Regions from separate parts of the Homo sapiens genome. Here all the other regions are linked to region 2. Evidence: promoter capture Hi-C in human tissues and cell types (Jung and others, 2019). All regions are on one chromosome and are shown on one strand. The core of a region is centred on a gene start or on the middle of the fragment in contact, and the rest is flanking DNA. Distances in the headings are between cores, read along the strand shown.

The links. Contacts are between HindIII fragments. The study calls those that stand out against the background at their distance.
Region 1: the fragment with the promoter of SLBP here is called in contact with the fragment with the promoter of IDUA in region 2 in 1 of the 25 tissues and cell types used here (dorsolateral prefrontal cortex).
Region 3: a contact is called between a fragment that was not itself captured here and the fragment with the promoter of IDUA in region 2, in 1 of the 25 tissues and cell types used here (lymphoblastoid cells).
Region 4: the fragment with the promoter of ZNF141 here is called in contact with the fragment with the promoter of IDUA in region 2 in 1 of the 25 tissues and cell types used here (lymphoblastoid cells).

What each region holds. Positions count from the first base shown.
Region 1 is chr4:1,710,585-1,714,160 of GRCh38, reverse strand. It overlaps SLBP (stem-loop histone mRNA binding protein), which reads left to right and starts at 1,842. Exons shown (of 8, transcript NM_006527.4): 1 at 1,842-2,031; 2 at 2,171-2,287. The coding sequence starts at 1,973. RefSeq lists an enhancer at 1,006-1,295 and silencers at 1,426-2,335, 2,346-2,465. The HindIII fragment of the contact is 8,102 bases long and covers 614-3,576 here.
Region 2 is chr4:985,532-988,772 of GRCh38, reverse strand. It overlaps IDUA (alpha-L-iduronidase), which reads right to left and starts at 1,729. Exons shown (of 14, transcript NM_000203.5): 1 at 1,531-1,729; 2 at 824-964. The coding sequence starts at 1,688. It overlaps SLC26A1 (solute carrier family 26 member 1), which reads left to right. Exons shown (of 3, transcript NM_022042.4): 3 at 1-1,116. RefSeq lists silencers at 1,263-1,440, 1,223-1,872 and an enhancer at 2,083-2,142. The HindIII fragment of the contact is 27,782 bases long and covers 1-3,241 here.
Region 3 is chr4:235,803-239,185 of GRCh38, reverse strand. It overlaps the pseudogene ZNF876P. Among named protein-coding and RNA genes, the nearest start is that of ZNF732, 68 kb to the left of the region's middle. The HindIII fragment of the contact is 5,262 bases long and covers 1-3,383 here.
Region 4 is chr4:335,499-339,172 of GRCh38, reverse strand. It overlaps ZNF141 (zinc finger protein 141), which reads right to left and starts at 1,359. Exons shown (of 4, transcript NM_003441.4): 1 at 1,187-1,359. The coding sequence starts at 1,189. RefSeq lists enhancers at 1,510-1,609, 654-1,614, 1,720-2,235 and silencers at 2,250-2,359, 2,590-2,649. The HindIII fragment of the contact is 20,671 bases long and covers 1-3,674 here.

The sequences.
Region 1 (3,576 bases), core at 593-3,092, 730 kb before region 2:
AAAGTGTTGGGATCACAGGCATGAGCCATCATCTCGGCCACTGCACTGTTCCAATATTGCTTAGCTCAAGGCCAGTGCTTATTGAGCTACTAAGAGGAAAAGAAAAGCAGTGTGGCAGTAGGAATATAGTTTAAATGTAGGGTGTGTGACTTAACCCTTGCCTGGCATGACCTTAGGTCCTATTCATAATTTGGTATCTTATTGCCACTGGTGTCCCCTTGACCGCAAGGGGGTCCATTCAGTTGTTGGGGGCTTAGGATTTTAATTTTTTTTGAGACAGAGTTCTGCTCTTGTTGCCCAGGTTGGAGTACAGTGGTGCAATCTTAGCCCACTGCCTCCCGGGTTCAAACAATTCTCCTGCCTCAGCCACCCGAGTAGCTGGGATTACAAGCATGCGTCACCATGCCAGGCTAATTTTGTATTTTTAGTAGAGACAGGGTTTCTCCATGTTGGTCAGGCTAGTCTCGAACTCCCAACCTCAGATGATCCTCCCGCCTCGGCCTCCCAAAGTGTTGGAATTACAGGCATGAGCCACCGCGCCCTGCCAGGATTTTATTTTTAGTTTACAGTGTTGAGGGTTATGGGATGCCCAGGGCCTGGGGAGGAAGGGGACAGGATGTGTCCGTCCTAGTCTGAGGATGACTTTTTTGAGTTCAAAAGGGGGCGGTGGACGCACCAAGGCACAGTCCTGAGGGCAGCAGGTGCAAAAGTCCGGCCCTCCCAGAGGTGTAAGGCCTTAGAGGGATCCCAAGCATCCCTGGGGCTCAGCCTCCTGGACCTGACCCCACTGCCCACTCTTTTGGCTGGTTCCACTCTCCCCTGCATCCCTCACGTTGTCCCCAACAGGAAGCTGTGGGAACCTGTTCTCAGGTGTAGTGCACCCGTTGGGGTTCTAGTTGGCTGGATCCGCGGGGCCGTCAGCTGCAACTGTGACGGCGGGGAAGCGGGACGGGATGGTGCGGATCTACAGGACCTCGCCTCCAGGTGGAACCTACCTGCTGAGCCAGGGATTCTTCAGGATACAAACCCAGTCAACTCCAGGCAGAGGGTGGGAGCGTCATGCACCGGCGACACAGTGGAGGACGTCATGGACGGGCAGGGAGGCAGCGGCAACCGAAACTAGCGGCTCAGTCGGTGGCCGGTGTGCGGTCAACGGCCAGGGCAGTGGGACCGGAAAGACTCAGTGTAGTTGTCAACTGTTGCGACCTAAAAGGTTACTCCAAAACTTTAAGCGGCTCAAAACAATAGACGGCGCGTACGGGGCCTGCAGCGGCCACGGGACCGTGGGAAGCAGTCAGTACCCGCCACAGGCCGCGCCTTCCGGGTTCCGGGTTCCGGGTTCCCGCCAGGGAGGAGACACGCCCCCACCTGGGCAGGAACCAAGCAGAGCCGCGCTCCACCCAGGCCGGAACCAATGGGAGATGCGCCACGACCCAGGCCGAGAAACGTGCCGCTTACCCTTCCCCCACGACCTGCGCCGCGTCGCGCGCGGCCGAATCTCCCGCCAAAGCTGCCCCCGCCCGCCAAGGCGCGACCTATCAGCGTCGCAGAGGCCCGCGGCGGCCCGGCCGCCTCAATCCCGCGGGTGGGGGCAACCTTTTCCTCAGGCCTCTCCTCAGCCCACGGCGTCCATCTGGCTCCCGAGCCGAGGGCCGGGCAGTCGGGCTTCGCGGCTGCCCGCGGTCCCGAGGCCTCGCCCTAGCCCCAGTCGGCTCGCGAGGCGCGCACAGCTGAGTGGACCCCTGCGGCGTGGCCCGATGGTCTCGCCCGACCCGGCGCGCGCGGGAGGCCGAGGGGCGGGGCCCGGCGCCCACATAAAGGCGGTTGGGGGCGGGGCGCGCAGAGCTCGTGAGCGCCGGCGCGGGGACGCGGGTTTCTGCCTCAGGCCCTGCCCTGCTCTACTCTGCGCTCTCTGCCCGCGCCGCCGCCGCCTCAGCCTCGGCCCTGCGCTGCGCGCCCGGCCCGTGCTGCCATGGCCTGCCGCCCGCGAAGCCCGCCGAGGCATCAGAGCCGCTGCGACGGTGACGCCAGGTGAGGCCGGGCTGCGCGGCGGGCGAGGGAGCGCGTGCCCCGTGGGGCGGGGGTTGTGCGGGGCCGGGGTGTGGGAGGGCGGAGGTTGTAAGGCGGTCCCGAACCTCCCGTGCCCAGCCGACCGCGTCCCTCCCCGCAGCCCGCCGTCCCCCGCGCGATGGAGCCTGGGACGGAAGCGCAGAGCCGACGGCAGGCGCTGGAGGCCCGAAGACGCCGAGGAGGCAGAGCACCGCGGCGCCGAGCGCAGACCCGAGAGGTGGGCGCGGGACCCGGGGGTCGGGGCGCGGTGGGGCCCTTGACGAGGCCGCGGGCTCCAGGGACCTCGTCGCGCTCTCGCGGTGCCGGGATCGGTCAGGTCGGCACCCTGCGTCCTTTTATCTTGGTCTCCGCGCGGCCCGTGGACTGGGGCGGCCGCAGCAGGCCTGGGAGGCGCTGGAACACTCCGGAAGCCTCTTGCCAGGATGGGAGTCAGCTGAACCGGCGTCAGCCCGAGTTAGCCAGTTCGAGTCTGTGTTGTGCTCCCGGGAGAGGTCAGGGTCTCTGACGAGCTTCTCGTGAACACGTGGAAGTCAGGGACACCCGAGTCCCGAGGAGAAGTGAGTTGACAGGGCTTACCTGCTTGGCCATTTTCTGGGTTAGGCAGTGTGCAGGGAGGGTGGAGATGCGAGCGAAAGGAGGGCTTGATGGGGTGGGACGGCCGAGGAGGGTCTGGAGGAAATAAGCAGGGGTGCCAGTGGTCGTAGTGGCGGGGCTTTTCGGGGCTGTGGTTAGAGAAAACTTCTCGAGGGGCTTTGGGGTGGCTCGTCCCGCACTGGGGGCTTGTTGCTCCTGAGTTCCCTGAAAGGCGTGGTGACTTGGCCGAGATGGAGCAGTGAAGGTGGAGGGAAATGCGTGGTTCGGGATAGGCTTCTGAAGGCAGGACCTGTGAGACTTGCTGATGGGTTGGGGATGGGAGGCGTGAAAGGAAAAAAAAAAATCGGACCCAACTTCACTGTGCCAAAAGGAAAAAATTATGCTGAGCGCGGAATCATGCAAGAAACTACCTTTGCGTTACTTTTTTTTTTTTTTTTTTTTTTTTAAAGACAGGGTCTCACTCTGTCTCACAGGCTGGAGTGCGGTGACGCGATCTTGGCTCACTGCAGCCTCCCCCTCCCGGGTTCAAGTGATTCTCCTGCCTCAGCCTCCCCAGCAGCTAGGATTACAGGCGCATGCCACCGCGCCCGGCTAACTTTTTGTATTTGTAGTAGAGACAGGGTTTCACCATGTTGACCAGACTGGTGTCGAACTCCTGACCTCAAGTGATCCACCCACCTTGGCCACCCAAAGTGCTGGGATTACAGGTGTGAGCCACCGCGCCCGGCCACCTTTGTGTTTCTTTTTTTTTTTCTAAGCAGATACCTACAGATACAAGATTAAATATCTCCACGGGTGAACTCTGTTCACTTTAAGTGGCGACTTACTGAGCACACTAGGAATACATAATTGACTATTCCCCTACCTGCTCCTTTTCTCTTGGAACATGTAGATCTTTCTCCTTCAACCTAC
Region 2 (3,241 bases), core at 480-2,979:
AAGCCACTGCTGAGACCCTTCCCAGGGAGGAGCCACCCAAGAGCTGCACTCTTGTGCCACAGCTGCCCTGGGGAAACCGGGGAACCCCAACTGGGAAAGGAGGCCCTCTGATCACACGCAGGACCCAAACACTCAGAAATCAAGAACCTCTGCCTCCGAGACAGGCTGGCCCACAGTGCTGGCTGGGCCCCAATGCACCGTCCCTCAGCTCAGGAGGGATGGGCCTGACCTGACGCTCAGGGTTGACATCTTATTTGAACAAGGGTCCCCCGCCATCATGCAGCCTCCAAGGTGCCAAGAGGACTCCCTATGCCCAGGCCTGCCCGGTGCCCACCCTGCTGGTAGGAGCCAGCGGCTCTGGCCAAGTGCACGAGGGTCTCTGTGTTTCCAGAAGGCCCCACACACCCAAGTGCCCCTCACACCTCGTGCCTCCCCCTCACAGGGTGGCCACCTGCACCAGCGTCAGGGCCCAGGGTGCTGTGACCGATGAGACCTCAGCTCAGCCCTCAGGTGCAGTGGCCCTACCCAGCCTGGCCAGCAGACACACACAGGGATGCTCACGGGTGCACCAGGAGCCAGGTGCGGCGCAGCCAACCCTGAGCCTGCAGGGAGACCTGCAGGAAGCCCACCGTGCCCCATGCAGGGGCTCCCTCCAGCACACAGCCCTCACCCCAGCACAGCCAGCAAGGACACGCTCTCCCCAACAGGGTGCTTCGGCGGGAGGTGGGGGAACAAGGGGTCTTCCGAGCAGCCCCCAGCCCTCCCCTCCCATCTGTGCCTCTGTAAGGGGCTCTGGGACGCCCAGACCCTGCCCGCCGCCCACCTGGTGGTGACAAGCTCCAGCAGCCAGTGGGTCCGGACCTGCTTGATGCCGCGGTGAGGGACGGCGCCCACATAGGCGAGGTTGAGCTGCTGGTCCCAGCTGAGGACGTACTGGTCAGCCTGGCTGTGTGGCAGCGGGGGGCTGGGGACAACAAAGGGGCGGCTCAGTCCCGAGCCTCAGCATGGCTGGCAGCGCGGCTGACACACACGTTCAAGCCCAGGACTGCCCGGGCGCAGGATCCAGGCGCTGCCCGTGCGTTCAGTGACTAATAAAATGACCCTTAGGGCCAGGAATGTGGGGAGGTCCCATCTTCATGGGGAACGGCAGCAGCAGTAAGACGAGGGGCCAACGCCAGCCCTGGCCCTGGCCCTGCCAGGAAGGCGGGTACCTCAGCTCTAGGTGGAAGGAATGGGACAGGCAGGCCAGGTCCCGCTGCAGGGCCGTCCACTCCCAGGGGAGACTCCTGGTTTACCTCAAAGAGCAGGATCCCGGGCATCGGCCTGGGCTGCAGGGGGCGGCCCAGGCTCACGCCCCGGCGCCCACTCAGGTGGAGGACCCACCCACAAACACGGCGGGGGGCGGGCCCGGGAGAGCCAGGGCCCCAGAGGAGGGAGCTCCGGTCTCTGAAGCTCTCACAGTGCGCAGTCAGGGGGCGCCCGAGCTCTCCCCGTGCGGCCAGGGGGTCCCGGAGGCCGCGGAGCGCTCACCAGAAGCCTGTGCTCCTCCAGAAGCGCCGCAGGGGCCACAGCGCGCGGGCCGCGTCCACATGCACCAGGTGCGGGGCCTCGGCCGGGGCCACCGGGGGCGCGGCCAGGAGCGAGGCCAGGAGCGCCAGCAGCGCGGCGCGGGGGCGCAGGGGACGCATGGCCACGCGTGCTCGGGGACTGCGGGGCTTCGGGCTGCACTGCCGGTTCCGCCTCCGGGTCGGAGTCTGGGCGCGCACCCCATGTGACCGCCGCCGCGGGGCGGGGCCTTGGTGAGGGGGCGATGGCCGGGTGGGAGGGGTTGGGTGGCCTCGGGGAGCCTCGGGGAGCCGGGAGCACGGCAGGGCTTGGAGCCCCGCTTCCTTGCGGGCCTCAGGGGCTGCTCTGAGGACCGATGACTCGGAAAGCGCTCAGAAGAACGCTTCGCCCGTTGGTGCTATGTGAGTTGAGCCATTACTGTCTTGTTTTTCTCTGTTTTTGTGTGTTTTTGAGACAGAGTCTTGCTTTGTCGCCCAGGCTGAGGTGCAGTGGCGCGATCTCAGCTCACTGCAACCTCCATCTCCGGGGCTTCAGCGATTTTCTCACCCCAGCCTCCTGAGTAAAGCGTGCGCTTTAGCAGGAAGGAGAATTACCCCAGAAGAGCACACTGGGCCCTCCTTACACTTGGCTTCAGATCCATGGATTCAACCAAGCAGACTGAAAATATTGTTTTAAAGCCAAAGCAATACGAAATAATACATATTTTAAAACAATACAGTATAACAGCTATTTACAGAGCATTTACATTGTTTTAGGGACTATAAGTAATCTTGATTTAAACTACACAGTAGGATGTGCGTAGGTAATGTGCAAATACTGTGCCATTTTATATCAAGTACTTGAGCACCTGCAAATTTTGGTATCTGGGAGGGTCCTGGAACCAATACCCCGAGGATACCATGGGACAACTGTAGTACATGTGTAGTCCATGTATGCATGTGTGAATCCAAGCAAACATTGTATAAAAATAATAATGGAAAGAACAGGCTTGGTGCGGTGGCTCACACCTGCAATCCCAGCACTTTGGAATTGCAGGCCAACACGGGAGGATCACTTGAGGCCTGGAGTTTGAAATCGGCCTGGGAGATGTACCAAGACCCCATCTGTACAAAAAAAAAATTTAGCCAGATGCGATGGTATATGCCTGTGAGGCCCAGCTACCCACGAAATTGAGGTGGGAGATTGCTTGAGCTTAGGAGTTCAAGGCTGAGACGGGCCATGATCACACCACTACATTCCAGCCTGGTTGACAAAATGAGACCCCATCTCTAAAAAAAGAAAAGAAAAAAAGAACAGTCTACTAACAAAACGAAAATACTGGACAATAATCCTCTCTAAGTTGGGAGAAGGATAATTAGAGTTACAGTGTTCTGGGTCTTTTTATTTTGGGGAGAGGGGTTAAAATATTGCTTAACATTAGGTCTTCTTATGTTGAAATTGCATTAAAAGTGATTAGCCATTTAAAAGTGAAATAGTGTGTATATATTCCAAATTAGCAAGGAGGAAAAACATAATACAAAAAAATTCATTAAGAAACTAAAAAGTAAGAAAGGGAGGGAAAGGCGAGAGAAACCATGCAAGTACAGAACTGTCTCCAGGAACAGCGGGGTAAGACCCTCAGTCCAACGACCCCAGAGAAAACAACTAAAATGATGGATAACTCGCTTTAAAAACA
Region 3 (3,383 bases), core at 264-2,763, 750 kb after region 2:
AAACCTACCTCCAGTCCCAAAACCTACCTCCAGTCCCTGTCAACTAAAGTCTGGGAGCAGTCCTGCCCACCCAGGAATCTGGAGGGAGAAATGCCGTGAACCCAGAAACAAACCTGAAGACTTTGGTCTCAGCTGTGTATCCTGAAGCAGCCCTATGAATCAGTTCCACACCCTCTCAGCTGTGACCAAGGGTCAGTACTTCTCATCTAGGAATCTGTCCAATGACTGGGTTAGAAGATTTCTAAAAACCCAGCAAGAGCCACACAGCAGAAGCCATACCTGCTCACATGGATTATATCAGCTCTGTCATCTGCATATACAACTGGAGACTTTTTTTTCTCAGCACCAGTCTTACTGATCAAGATCCTGAAGAAAGTTCAGTCTTCCTAGAAAATAGACAGAATCCACAACAGTCTGATGCCCTAATAACAGGTCTGCCAAGCATGAACTTCACTGTGATCCAGATCCAATGCACCTTACTGCAAACTCACTGGAAATCTCATCAGCACAGAGATCCAATAGGAGAAAATATTTACCACCCCAAACTAATCTATAATGACTGCAAGAGATATTTACTCCTTCAGATGCAAGGACATAAAAACAAGGCATCACAGACCATGAAAGATCAGGCAAATGTAACACCACCAAAAGAAACTAAAAATTCTCTAGTAACCACTTACAGTAAAACACAGATCTAAAAAATGGCTAAGAATTCAAAATAATTATCTTAAAGAATCTCAATGAGATGCAAAAAAACCACACATTACTAAATTTTTTTTGCAACAACGTATGAACAGAATCACAATTATAATAAAGAGAAACCATTAAAACAGAACCAGTTAGATATGCTGGAGCTGAAGTACACAATAGGAGATCTAAAATATTTAAGAGAAAGCTTTAACAGGAGACTCCGTTATACAGGAAAAAAAAAATCAGCAAATGTAAAAGTTATTTGAAAGTTCCTAGTTAGAATTTAAAAAAAGAATGCGAGTGAATAAAGCATTTGTCCCCCATATTTCATAATCAATGGTAAGGATGTACAATTTTAGGAGGTTCATGAGAAAGAAAAAAATTTTTAAATTGTTTAAAGATATAATGTCTTAAATTCTTCCCAATCTTGGAAGGAATATAGATATTAAATTTAAAAGCTCAAAATGTCTATAGCAAGAAGAATCTAACAGAAATTGTCCAGAACACATTATAATTAAACTGCCAAAATTCAAAGACAAACAAAAAAGAAAAAAAAAAGAAAGAATGAGTAATACCCAGTATGAGTATAATAATTTAGTTGCACATTTTAAAATAACTAAAAGAGCATAATTGGATTGTTTATAACCCAAATTATAAATGCTTGAGGGGATGGATATACCCCATTTTTGATTATGTGATTGTTACACATTACATGCCTGGATCAAGACATCTCATGTGCCACACAAATATATACATGTCCTACATACTCACAAAAATTAAAATTAAAAAAAGAAAACCCTTTACCTGGGGTTTGCCTGCAAAACCTAAAATAAAGAGTAAAAAGTAAAAAAAAAAAAAAAAAAGCAAGAGAAAAGAGATTCTTCACATTCAAGGGAACTCCTATAAGGTTATCAGCAGATTGCCCAGCAAAAACCATGCAAGCCACACAGGAGTGAAACCATATATTTAAAATGCAAATGAAGGAAGAAAAAGAAAAAACCTTGACAACTAAGAAGACGATACCTGACAGAGCTGTTCTTTAGAAATGAAGTATCAAAATCTTCTCAGATTAAAAAAAAGTTGAAAGTTTTAATCACTAGACCTGACTTACAACAAATGCTAATGAGAATTTAAGTTGTAATGGAATCCAAACTTACAACAAAATTATAAATCTTACTGAAAATCATATATACATAGTCGAATTTAGAAGGCTATAAAACTAATTATGGTGAATGAATTAATCACATTTAACTCTGGTATAAAAGCTACAAGAAAAAATTATTAAGACTACATATAGCTTCAATAATTTGTTAAAGGGTATACGATATAAAAAGATGTAGAGTGTGACATAAATACTATGTTGAAGGGAGTAAAATTGTTTAATTTTTCTATACATAGAAGCTAACTTTTGCTTGAGGCCAGGAGTTCAAAACTAGTCTGGTCAATATAGCAGGACCCTGTCTCTTAAATAAGTACATAAATAAAATTAAATAAAGATCTCAGAAAGCTATTTAGTCTTTTAAAAAAAGAAGCAGCTGGGCCTGATGGCTCATGCCTGTAATACTAGCACTTTGGGAGTCCAAGGCAGGTGGACTGCTTGAGCCCGGGAGTTCAACACCAGCCTGAGCAACTTGGCAAAACCCTGTCTCTACAAAAAATACTAAAAAAATTAGCCAGACATGGTGGCATGTGCTTGTAGTCCCAGCTACTTGGGAGGCTGAGGATTGCTTGAGCCTGGGGAGGTCAAGTCTGCACTGAGCTATGAATGTACCACTGCACTACACTGGGTAACAAAGCAAGACCCTATCTATACAAACCAAAAGCTAAATTCTTATCTGAAATTAGATTTTATAACTATGAGATGTTTTACATAAGCTTCCTGGAAATTACAAAAAAAACTGTAGTGGTTACACACAAAAGAAAAAGAATGCATATAACAACAAAAACAACAAAAATTCAAGAAAATACAGGGGAAGACAGCATGAAACAATGAAAAAACAAACTACTAAATGGTCAGAAAACAGTAAGAAAATGGCAGTAAGTTCTTATCAATCAGTAATTCATTTAAATATATAAAGATTTAGTTATCCAATAAAAACACATTGCTATAGTTTGAGCGTCCCCTCCAAAATTCATGTTAAAATTTAACTGACATTGTGAGAAAATTAAGAAATGAGGCCCTTAAGAGTTATTAGGTCATGAGCACTCTACTGTCATGAAAGGATTAGTATCAGTATTACCACAGTGTATTAGTCATCATGAGAGTGGGTCTATTATAAAAGTGAGCACTGGTGTACACCTTCTGTCATCCTCAACCCTTTGGTCATGTTGTGATGTGGAAATGTGATTCTCATCAGATGGGAATGACATGCTCTTGGACTTCTTGGCATCCAGGAGTCTGAGCTAAGTAAATTCTATTCTTTATGAATTACGAACTCTGGGATATTCTGTTATTGAAGCAAAAAAAAAAAAAAAAAAAAGGAAACATTCACAAAATGTCTGAATAGATTTAAAAAGTCAACAATATGCTGTGCACAAGAGACTTATTTTAGGTTTAAGGACGTACATAGGTTAATGGTACAAGGATGAAAAAGAATATTCTATGCCAATAATAACTAAAAGAGTGTAGGAGTGGCTATAATTACATCACACTAAATAGACTTCTAGAAAAAAATCTATCAGAAAAAAAGAAT
Region 4 (3,674 bases), core at 110-2,609, 650 kb after region 2:
ACCTAGGAGCAAAGCTGCCATGGGCACAATTCCTGAGGGTAGAACCCTGTCCTGGGACAAGTGTGGCCGTGCGAATGCCCAATGGGCGGGCTCAGGAGTGGGTTAGCATTGGGTGGGGGCTGGCAGCAGGGTGCAGGGAAGGGATGTTTCTCAGAACTCCTTTCCTCCAAGTTCTCAGCGCCCTCTCTCCCCGGGAGGAGACCTGGAGGAACAGAACAGTGCGCAGCAGGACAGTGCATGTGCAGAACCCGGCTGGTCTCCCGCGGACACCTGCGACTCCCTCCAGCCCAGGCTCAGCCATGTCTTTCTTCTGACAGGAAACGTGAGGAGTTTGCTCAACACCAGTCAATGCTCCGACCCCAACGGGCTGTCCAACAACTCACTAACGACACCACCCGGAGTCAGCACAGACCCCACAAGCTCAGCGCTCTTCCCGCAGCTGCCCCCCTGCAGACGCCAGTCCCTGCCTCTGGACACCCGTCTTCATTTCTGAACACCTGTCTACAAACCAGGGGCCCACACCCTCCTCAAGTTCAATAATATGACAGAACTACTCACAGAACTCAGCGAAGCGCTGTGCGCGCCCACACTAGCGTATTCTAAAAGATGCCACTCAGGAACAGCCACGCGGAGGAGGCGCACAGGGCAAGGAGACTGGTGGGCAAGTTGGAGCGGGCGGGTGATTTGCTTCGCTTCCTCACACACCTCACAAAAGCTTTTCCTTCAAGACCCGCTGGCAGCCCCCAAACCACGAGCCACGGCCGGCGCTGTCCCATTAATGAGTCCCCATTTGCTCACATGAACTCTGTTTTGATGGGGCCTCGATCTCATTCCGAACAGGGTAAAGCAGGGACGGGATCCCCAGACCACAGCTTCTCCCACAGCTCCTCCCACGCCGGCATCGCGCACGCCGCGCGGGCGGCTTCCAGATAAGCTACTCCTCACCCCACAGCCTGGGGAAGGTGCGGGGCTGCGGGCGCAGAGCTGCACAAGGAGGGCTGCAGGCTGGGCCAGAGCCGCTGTGCGGGGACCGACAGGAGCCCAGGTCCCTCACCGGAGGGTACTGAGGCCCCAGGGCTGAGCGGCGGCAGCGGGGACTCCGTTCGCAGACTCGGTCCCGCCGCCATTTCCCGCCAGCTCCGATGAGACCTCCTCAGCCTTGGGACGCCCTGCCCCGCACACTCACCATTTCCCCACTTCTGAAGTATTCGGGAGTCTTAGCTACCAATCATCCAATACCCGCAGGTCACAGAGCGACGGAGGCTGAGCTGTGGCCGAATCACCAAGGCCTCCCACAACTGAGAACGCAGAGAGATGAAGCCCCTAACCCGCGGTCTGGTAGTAGCCAGACGCAAAGACCCGCGCCACATCCCGGAAGCCACCGCCTCCTCTCTGGCTGCGTGCCTGATTGGGCAGTTTTCACTCCAGTGCGCTGATTGGATACGGCTCCAATCTCCCCGCCATCAGACCTTGAGTGACAGAAGTTGCAACCACATACTCCACGGAATGTGGCGAGAGTGACAGCCGGGGGGCCTCCAGGCAGTTTCAGGCGGGGCTTTCTCTTCGTGCTTGGCCTGGCACAGCCCAGGGGTCATTTTTTAACCTTGTGATGTGTAAGGTGACGTCCATTTAGAAATTATACACGCACGCACACACACAGACATATACGCGCGCGCGCACACACAGACGCGCGCACGTACGCAGTCTCACATAAACATACAAAAGTCACAGACACACACACACACACACGCACGCACCCACGCACGCACAGCCCATCCTTCCTCCAAGGCTCGCGAATCATCTCTCCACAAATCCTGCCTTCGGGGCCGCAGCCTGCAGGCCGACCTCAGTCCGTCCTCACAGAGCCTAGTTGGGTGCACAGCTCTCCCTGACGCGCGAGGAGCAGGTTCACGGGAGTCGGTCGCGCATCCCCAGCGCCCTGCGGGCCTCGCACCGGCTGTGGCGGTGACCCCGGTGAGGAGGGCTTTGGTGCGGGTCACCGTTGCTGAGGACACCCTCCTCCCCCGGAAGCGCGGTCCTGGGGGTCTGGGGGGCGGGTCCCTGACCGCTGTAAACAATAGGTCGGTGGTGTCCACGCAGCAGGCAGCAAATTCTCAGGAAGTGAGCGTCCCGTCTTTGGCTTCACCTTCGTGTCTGTAGAATGGGGGTGAGGGGACTCAGGACTCGGAGCGCTGTCGGGCGGGGCGAGGTGGGCTGAGAGTGTGTCTCCCTCCCCAAGCTCACCCGGAGCTGTGCGGGGCGGGACCGCCCCAGGACCCTCGGTTCCCAGGAGCTCCTGGGGGCCCCGCCGCCCCCACCCCAGGCCGCGCTGCGCAGCCCCAGTCCCCGCCGGCCCCACCGCGCGGTCGCTTTGAGGTCGGCCGGGGTCTGCCCGGCGATGGCGACGCTGCAGCCGCTGGAGCCGGGGCCACCGGGGATCTCGGCGGGACCTGGCGGCAGCGAGGACGCGGACCCTGGAGAGATGGGAGGGGCGCGCCCCGAGCCCGAGCCCCACCCGGACCCGGCTGCCGTCGGCCTAGCCAGGGCCGGGGCGGACACCGTCGAGGACGAAGCCGGGCCCGCGCCCCTGGGCGACCCGTTGAGCCGCGGAGCCCCGCGGGGTGGAGCCGGGCCAGGCCCATCCGCTCCGGGCGCGGGCAGCTGGCGTCGCGGGTGGGTCAGAACCCAGGACACGCCCAGGAGTCCGACCTCATGGCGCTGCAGGGCCTGGGGAGTGGGGGCTGGGGACAGCGCCAGGGCCAACCCGACGCCAGCACCCCCGGCAGACCCCAGGAGCCGCCTGTGAAGAGACTGGATAGGTGCATTAAGCGATCAGAAAAGTCACTGGCTGGCCCTGTTGATGAGCAGAACGCTTTCAGAGAAGTGTATGCTCACGCAGTGCTTGGACAGCATTCGCGTAGTTTGACACTTGTCTGCTTGGGCGGATAGATGCTCACACACATAAGTTTGTTTTGTAGTTATGCAGGATTGCACTGTGGCTAAGTACACAGACTCTGGGTGCACATCCCAGCTGCTCTGCTATTTCCAGCTGTGTGACCATGGGGAAGTTACTTGCCTGTGCTCAGTGTCCTCTGTAAAGTGAAGATAGCAGTACCTGCCTCATGGAGTCCCTTAAGTGAGTTAATAGTGTAACATGTTATGGCGTCATGCACACAGTCACCATCGGTAAATATAGTCTATTATGCCTGAACCCCAGAGGAGCACATGTCCTTGAAAAGTCTAAAATTCAGGACTCTAAAATCCAGACTGTGAGACCCTGGAATCCTCCAGCAGCATTCTAACGTCTCTTGGCAATTGTATGCTGCTTCCCAGGGCTGGAAGGTGTATTTGTATTAATACAGTGAAATAATACGGCCACTTGACCACCTAGTTCATCCCTATAGTAGGCAAATAAGGTGATGTCAAATCCTTGGCTGGGGCCCAGTCCTGGTAATCTTCCCTTCTCTCTTTCCTGCATACTCTCTCATTCAGATTCATACATGCCCTGCAGGACTGCTTAGCCTGCAGAGAAGGCAGGATGGTGAGGAGAGAAGGTGAGTGGGTGGGTGGGTGCAATTGTTCACTGAAGTGTGCTGCCTCTTGCCATCTGAACTTGTGGGCCCAGGCACTGGGTCTGGACCTGAGGGGGTCTTGTTCTCCCTTTAACTTTAAGC